Linked DNA regions of Homo sapiens: region 1 is linked to region 2. The links are contacts of gene promoters, found by promoter capture Hi-C in blood cells and fetal thymus (Javierre and others, 2016). All regions are on one chromosome and are shown on one strand. The core of a region is centred on a gene start or on the middle of the fragment in contact, and the rest is flanking DNA. Distances in the headings are between cores, read along the strand shown. Region 1 overlaps KTN1 (kinectin 1). Region 2 holds the start of WDHD1 (WD repeat and HMG-box DNA binding protein 1).

The links. The method cuts DNA at HindIII sites, captures the fragments that hold promoters and counts their contacts. A CHiCAGO score of 5 or more calls a contact.
Region 1: a fragment that was not itself captured here is called in contact with the fragment with the promoter of WDHD1 in region 2 in 1 of 17 cell types (total CD8 T cells); the score reaches 5.7 in total CD8 T cells.

Annotation. Positions count from the first base shown.
Region 1 is chr14:55,582,752-55,586,962 of GRCh38, reverse strand. All of the region lies in intron 1 of KTN1 (kinectin 1), which reads right to left. Among named protein-coding and RNA genes, the nearest start is that of KTN1, 4.6 kb to the right of the region's middle. The HindIII fragment of the contact is 4,433 bases long and covers 1-3,665 here.
Region 2 is chr14:55,025,605-55,029,918 of GRCh38, reverse strand. WDHD1 (WD repeat and HMG-box DNA binding protein 1) reads left to right here and starts at 2,820. Exons shown (of 26, transcript NM_007086.4): 1 at 2,820-2,891; 2 at 3,116-3,208. The coding sequence starts at 3,132. SOCS4 (suppressor of cytokine signaling 4) reads right to left here and starts at 2,683. Exons shown (of 3, transcript NM_199421.2): 1 at 2,448-2,683. RefSeq lists enhancers at 1,944-2,470, 2,471-2,998 and a silencer at 2,793-2,842. The HindIII fragment of the contact is 4,247 bases long and covers 1,148-4,314 here.

The sequences.
Region 1 (4,211 bases), core at 200-2,699, 560 kb before region 2:
TAGGTAGGGTCAGAGTTGGCGTTTTCGAGGTAACCATTAAGAAATGTCTATAAGATCACACAAGAGTAACTTATAATGAACATATGCAGGAAATGAAACAGAAAAGTTTCTTGGAAACAAAAGGACGACATTCTATCTACTGCTTTCCATATAACTAAAACATTTTATAGCATGTGGTTTAAGTAGCTTTTACTGTTTTCTCCACTTGAAAAACTTCAAGTCTTTAAATTTAAATCACTAGTTTTAAGAATTAATCTTCTAATTCCTATGGGGGGGAGGGGGATCCTTATAACCTTAATTTAGCTTTGTAATGCCTAACATTAGACAGCTGCACATGGACAGCGTTTTGTTTTCTTCAGAAAGCATTCTTATAAAACAGCTCAACGGGTAAGAATGGGCTCTAAGTCAGAATGCCTCAGTTAAAATTCAGGCTCCTCCTAAAGATATTTGTGTCTTTGAACAAATTATTTGTCTCCCTAGTTTTCACCAAATAGTACCTACCTCATAAGGTTGTTGAGAAGATTAAATATGATATGATATGATAATGCACCTAAAGCATTTAGAGTTTGACAGCAAATATGTACTCCAATGTTAGCTATCACTTATGAGGCAACTACTGAGGTAAGATAATTCCTTAATGAGCCTTAGGCAGGTTAATATAGGTTAAGATCACACATGCAGTAAGTGGTACTGACTAGCAAAACTAAATTCAAGCCCAAGGTCTTCAGGCTCCCTAGTGCCCAAGCTGTTTCCACTACCCCACAGAACATTATGTAATTAAAGAACTGGACAATAAAGAACTTGCATAAAACCTTAGAGTTAATAAGGTCTAAGACCTGTAGGTCTCCTAACTAGTGACTTCCAGCTTATTATACCAGACCAGATTGTTTCCTTAACAACTCAATGACTCATGCATAAGAATAATAATTGTCCCACATTTTCCAGCGAAAATGCAGTGTAACATCATGTCTCCTGATAGACAATGTACACTTACTTGAATTCACATAAGTTCTGAAAACTAATTGTAGATGTTACTCAGAGTCAAAATAAAGAAATAAGGGTAAATAACATTCTCTTCTAGTAATTATAGGCTGCTATGATCCTACGGCCCCTATGGAACCTATTCAAAGTGGAAGCTGTCTTACAGGATCTCTCACTGGATTAACTGACATTCTCCTCCTTTGTAAAAATACATGGGCTGGTGTCTTCAGAAAGCTGTTTCTGGCTAGCAATTACTCTCCTACTCACTTATTTCTATATATCTATCAAACATGAAAATAGAGTCAAAAGGTGTTATTTCTATAAAAATGACATTAAATCCTTTGGAAGGCCTTGATGAATAACTGGAAAAATCTATAAAGATTTTGTACTTGGAGAGTTTCCCAGTGCCTATCTTTTCATTCCACTTTAAAGAAACCAATACTAGAAATCATAGATAATGCTTTTAGAGTACAATCTATGAAAGGAAAATCAGGATAACCTTTATTTTAAGAAAAGAAATCAGTAAAAATAAAAAGGCAAATAAAAGTAAAATCAAATATTTTAAGTGAAAACATTTAAGGTGCACATATATTTTGATTCCTTGCTTTAACCAACTTTTTGAATTAACTAACAAATGGTCCTAATCATGTGGAGTATGTAAGAGGGTCTCCACCACACTCTAACATCATTCCTTCCACCAAGCAGCTCCCAAAGGCTCCATGCCACTTTCTTCCACTCTCTGACCATCCCTGAAAGAGGAAAGGAGCAAACTGAAAACTACATGTATCCAATAATGAGTTATCCATCAAAGGAAGGAATGTGAGATTTTTTTTTTTTTTTTTTTTTTTTTGAGACACAGTCTCACTCTGTCACCCAGGCTGGAGTGCAGTCGCACCATCTCAGCTCACTGCAACCTCCACCTCCCTGGCTCAAGCAATCCTCCCACCTCAGCCTCCCAAGAAGCCGGGACCACAGGCACACGCTACCATGCCTGGCTATTTTTATATTCTTTTTAAAGATGGGGTTTTGCCACGTTGCCCAGGCTGGTCCCAAACTGCTGGGCTCAAGCAATCCACACACCTTGGCCTCCCAAAGTGCTGGCATTACAGATGTGGGTCATCACACCCAGCCAGGATTTAATTATTGTGTTCAACAAATTCTTATTGAGGACCTGCTATGTGCTAGACACTGCTCTGAACTCTTAAAGAGTCATCAATAAAACAGACAAAAAGCCTACCCTCATAGAAGCTATGTAATACTGTGTTTGAGGGTTATGTGGAAGAGACAATAAACACAACCAGGAAATTATATAGTATGACAGAAGGTGACAAATGCTATAAAGAAAACGGAGCAAGGTACAAGAATCAGACGTAGGGGAGTGCAGTTTTAAATAAAATAGGCACATCTTTTTAAGAAACTGACATTTAAAAAGCAAAGACTGGACGGAGACAACAAGCCATGCATGTATCTACAGGGTAACAGCCAGTGTAAAAAACAGCTCTGTTTCCTCCATGGCACTTGTCACCTTCTTGCCAGGAGAAGTAAACAGTATATAATTTCCTCATTGATTGTGTTTATTATCTCTTCCCCTTGCCCTCAAACATACACTATTACACAACTTCTATCAGGGCAGAGCTTTTCGTCTGTTTTGTTTATTGATGGAGCCTAAGCGTTTAGGGCAGTGTCTGATATGTAGCTGCCCTTAGGAAAACCATTGGAGCCAGAGAGAAGTAAGCAGAGGGATGATAGTAGCTAACCTTAGAGGTAAGGGGGAATGAGGAGAGTGGAAGTGTCCAGATTCTGCATGGCCTTAAGGACATAAGAACTTCAGCTTTCACTGTGCATAGAGAAAGTCACTGTAGCATTCTGAGAAGATAAGTAATATGATCCAGTTGTTGTGTTGGAAAGACTGCAGGGAGTTAGGGCAGAGGCAGGGAGATCAGTTAGGAGGCTAATTGCAGAAATCTAGGTAAGAGATAAGAATGGCTTGCACCAGGCTGGTGAGCAGTGGAAGCAGTAAGTACTGATTGGATTCTGGTTATATTTTCAAGATAAGACAGAGCACAGAATGCCAAGTGTGAAAGAAATAAGTCAGGGATGACTCCAACGTTTTTTTACCTGAATGTTTGATGGAAACATCAAACATCAAACATGTTTGAGGAAAAATACGGAAATTTAGTTGGAGTTGACTACTGCACATCCAAGTGGATAGGCCTAACAGCACATGTGGAAAGTCTGGGTTGGAGATATAAATATGGGAGCCATCAGCATATAGGTATTTAAAACCATGACACTGGATAAGATTGTCAGAGGAATATAAAAAGAAAAGTGAAACAAGGACTGAGCATGTCAAGTTTAAGAGTAGAAGATGTAAGATAGAATGAACAAAGCAATTAGGAAGGAGAAAGCCCAAAAAGCAGAATGTCCTGGAAGAAGAGTGCAAACAAATTACATTTAGTGTACAAATCACTTTGCTGAAACCAGATTTAAGTTACGGAAGAGTTCTTAATCTCCCTGTAGTAGCTAGGACGATTCGTAAAATACTAAATCATAACTTTTTTTAGGGTATGTCTTCTACATTTCCGAGGAATATTATATTTCCTATCAGAGTATCTACTAAAACTATTGTTAGAATTAAAAGTATATCTTGCCTATTTTCTTTTACATAAAACCAATTAAAAGCTTGTACCATTTTTTAAAAAAGAAAAATAGCCTAGTTTTCACTGCCACCTCTGTCAAAAACACATTTAAGCACAACAGCTCGGCACACAGTTGTAAACTGTCATTATTTCTCTTTCTCTAGACCTCAGATACAGAAGGTTAAATTAAACCCCTTAGTTCACAGCACATAAGGTTCTTCCCCTTAATGTTTAATTTTCTATTTATAGAGGAGGGAAAAAGGCTTATATTCTCATCTAGACCAATATTTTCCCAGTGATTTGAAAATAAATTACATTTTTTGATTGGGACAAAGTCATGTTCACAGGAACTGAAAGAGGAAGCAATGAAATGCAATTCTCTTTGAGCATGAGTGATCACCAATGTCACTTCTAGAGAAATAGTTACTTGCTTGTATCCTCTAAGTATACTCTGGATTTACCTTCAAAGTCACTAAAAACAGTACAGAGAACAAGCAGGTCATAAGGTGTATTCTCAAATATATGAACGATCTTGCAAAGCACGATTTTTCTCATTTCCTTATTACATATTAGGTCAGATTCCCAAGAGAA
Region 2 (4,314 bases), core at 1,571-4,070:
AGGGGAACTGGATGGCTGGGAGTATGAGTAGGAGGACGACTTTTACTGTATTGCCTTTTATATCATATTAAGTATACATACAGACAAGTACTATTTACCCCAAAATTATTAAATAGGCTAGTAAGTTTCAGGACACATTTGGAAATATAAAAATCTTCACATTTCTAAAGTGCCTTCAATGTTTCTTTTTTCAATACTTTGGTCTCCTTGGCTATTGTTACACTCTTCTAGCCTTACCTTTCACAAGATTAATCATTTTTACACCAAGTACATATTTTACTAGAAAATAATTTTTTAAACTCCTTCCATAAGCCAATACTGATATATCCTCTTAGATAAATCCTGTAAGATCACATGATTTTATATAGGTAATACCATCATTGGTAGAATGGCAATGTACCCATGTTTTCTCACCCAATTGTCCTTGGGAGCAAAAATATTTGTGAGTCTAAGGGTAGTATGAGTGGTTACAACACAGCAAAGCTAACTAACCATCACTGCAATTCAATCTGTGACTTTGGCATCATTTTCAGTCAGTTCATTTAGCCACCCACACCTATGAGATAAGCACTGTTAATGACAAATAACTACATTTGGAAAATTTTTGATACTCCTATCAGTGACACAGCTACACTGATTTCTTTTTAAAAAACTATGTTATTTTAACTAACTAGACAATTTTGCTAATATTTAAGTTACACATCTTTCATTACTGCACTATCATCTTGATCATATTGTTTGAATGTCTATTTCCCTCAGCAAGACCATAAACTCACTGAAGGTATTACAATTTGTAGCCATTTGACTGAAACAAATGGAATTGTGAAAACATGATACTAGCAAAAACAAGAATACATTTTTTAATATTTGAAAAATTTACTGGATAATTATTTAAACAAATCCCACTTTAAACAAAAAACACTAAATACCCACCCAAAGCACCCCTTTAGTAACATGAGATATTAATAACAATTACTTTTATACATCCATGAGTATCTCCTATATACTCTAACAATGCGACGGAGGTAGGTGTCATCTCCATTTTAGAGATGAGGAATTCGATTTTCAGTAAAGGAACATATTCAAGGTCACACAATGTGTCAGTTAGAATTAAAACCCAGGACTGTTAAACTCGGAGGCTCAAGCTTTTACCATACATGCAAAATCTGCAAAGAAAATTGTTCTTTAACCTATGAATCAAATGGCTTGATTGATAAGAGAAAATGACAGATGTGTGGACATCAATCATAGTCTCATGGGTATTACAGATATTATAGTGAAGGCATTTTGTAGCTATAACTTGTTCCAATTTGCAGATTCTTCTTATGCTGAGCTCTGAATAGTACTAACCAGAAATCTCACCACGCTTTATTCAACATAGAGACGAATATTATGAGAGTTCATCTTGAACTCTATGTACTCTAGCCAATGATATTGTTACTTGAACGAAAAAATTTATAAGCCAGTCTATCCAAAAAACAAATGATCTCCAAAAAAAAAAAATTAGGTCACTCAGAAAGCATCATCTCTGGTACCACTGCTCTTTCGGGAGATCAACAGTGGGTTATTTTTCCACAAATCCCAAGTTGTTTTTAAGCCAATCATTCTTCCTCTTCATTCATATACAAACCTCAGCGTCTAGCAAGGCTATCTGGAGCTCTAGTACTAAAAACAACGCCTCACACAATGCCACCCACGGTAAGAACACGACGGTTTGCCTGTGTGTTTGCAACTTTTCACAATGGAACTAGATTGAAAAAAACAATAGGGAAACCTCTTCAACAGAAAAACGTCTCAGGTAATAAAATAAATGTGATTGATACTGGAAGGTATCACAAAAACGCAGAAAAATTCTCAAAGATAAGTACAAATGAAAGAATATCATTCTGAAGGTTTTCATCACAGGCTGCTGTACCAATATGGAGAATGAAGATACAAGAAAAGCATAAACTTAAACTTAGTGGCCAAGACTTTAGCAGATATTGCATGGATCAAATGTAAGTGCTCAAGGCTACTAAGTTATAACTCTTCTTTTGGTTATAAATATTCACTTCAGTAAACTTTAGGTGGGATCTGAATAGAGAACACAAGTTACTTTCTTCATAACGGATATATAGAGTCGCAAAGAATAAGCATTAATTGAGCATTAATTAATTATACCTTCAGGTACCAAGAGAACCAACCGGAACAGAAATTAAGTCATTCCTTCTTTATCTCTACAGAAGCGACAAGGTGAGGGCACGAAGGATGCCAAGATTAGAGGCTCTAGAAGATCTCGCCTTCTTTTCCAGAGAAGATGCTCAAAGATCTGTCTGCTAACTGGGCCCCAAGAAAGAGACCGGATCCTTTTAGGGATCCGGATATTGTTTCCTGGGAGGAGAGCCTGGAGGGCAGGAACAAGACCCCGGCCTGCGAGGCCAGGCAGCGGCCACCCTTCCCCCACTCACCTCCCGGAGCGCAGCTTAACTGGGGTTGTGCGAGTAACTGCTGCCATCACCATCGCCATCAGTCTGGGCGCTTGCTTAAGTGGAGAGGGGAGGCCCAACCACTCCTGCACCTCGTGTAGGTCTTACAAAGCAGATGCTTTTCTGCCACCCCCAACCCCGCTTCGGCGTTCCGGTCCCAACCCAGCCGTCACGGTCATCGCCTCCGCCGGTTCCCTGGGCGCCGCCACCACTTCCGTGTTCAGCTCCCTCCCTTCCTCCCTGATTTGCCCGGGCAACCGGCTAATTTCCACGCGGAGGGCGCCGCAGCTGACGCCACCACCCGGCGACCTCTGTCGGGACCTGCGCTGGGCGTGGGCGGGTCGGCGCAGGCGCAGTGTGGTGAGCGAGCCGAAGCGCGGGAAGCAGCTCTTGTGGATCCTCAGTGGCGGAGGCTCGGTCACCCGGGTGAGTCCCCACTCCGGCTGCCCGCGTCCACCAAGGAGATGCGTGTTCCCTTTCCGGCTTATTGTCTGACAGACCCTCTGCCTTATCCCGCTGGTGTCACTCGGGTGGGGGAAACCGGGCTGCGGAGAACGGGCCCTAGAGGAGACTAAGCTCTCTTCCTATCCCTAGCCTCGCTGCTTTTCTCTTTTGAAATAATAAGACTGGCTTTTATAAAACATTTTCAGATAGGTAAAGGAAAACATGCCTGCCACACGGAAGCCAATGAGATATGGGCATACAGAGGGACACACGGAGGTCTGTTTTGATGATTCTGGGAGGTAAGGTTCTTTGAGAAACAACGTTTTAGGTGCAAATGTTAAAACATTTATCCTTAAACTTTATATGTGCAGTCAGCTAAAAATGACTCATGCGGATAGAGGAATAATGTTGAAATCTAAAATGGCACACATATTTCTTTAGATTATTGTTTGATTCGGGCCGTCATGGTAGTTGTAGTATATCGACAAAGTTATAATCGTACTTCCAGAGGAGTTGGAAAGATGCGAGCTTCTCTCCATATATTTTCCCCTTCCCTGCATCTTACATTATTAATTTTGTCAGATCACTAGTTACTGCCTACTTGTCAAATTCAGTGGCCTGTTCTGTTTGGAATGATATCCTTCCATGCCTTTAGTGATGCTATTTCCCTTTTTGCTTATTTTTTTTTAACTTTTTGACGGCTTAAAACAATTTTTTCCTCTGATTCCTAAACTATAATATTTTCCTACGGTTATTCTGGTCCCTTTTATCTTTCCAAGTCCCATTCTTACGCACTACTGCTCGATTGCACGGCTTCCACTGTCGCTTCTATGTTGATTGATTCATTGAAAAAATACTTGTGTGTCTCTTTTGCTGGGGACTACAGATAGAATAGAGCGAACCAGACACAGTCTTTTCCTCCTTTGAGCTTAAGGTCTTTTTGGATTGACAGGCATTGAACACAAATTAATCACAAAAATAAATGTGTATTTAGAAACAAGTAATATGTGCAGTGATAAACATGTATGAGGAGAAGCTCATCTAGTTAAAGGAGTCAGGGAAGGCTTCTTTGGACAAGTGTTTCTTGAGACGCCATCTGAAGACGGAGCAGGCATTAAGCAGTATAAAGAGATGAGTGGTGGTGGCGGTGGGGTGGTGATGTTGGCATAGTAAGCAGAGGCAATACTGTGTGTAAAGGCCCAATGGGGCCAGGGATCATGGTATGCTCAAAGAACTGAAGGAAAACTAGCCTTACTAAAATGTGGAGAGTGATGCAGAGTTTAGTGAGAGATGAATCTGTGAAGTTAGGCAATGGATGTCCTATCCAAGACCTTCTGGACTTTATTAAGGAATCTCGTTTTATCCTAAAAGCACTGAGAAGGTATTAAAGGCTTGAAGCAGAGAG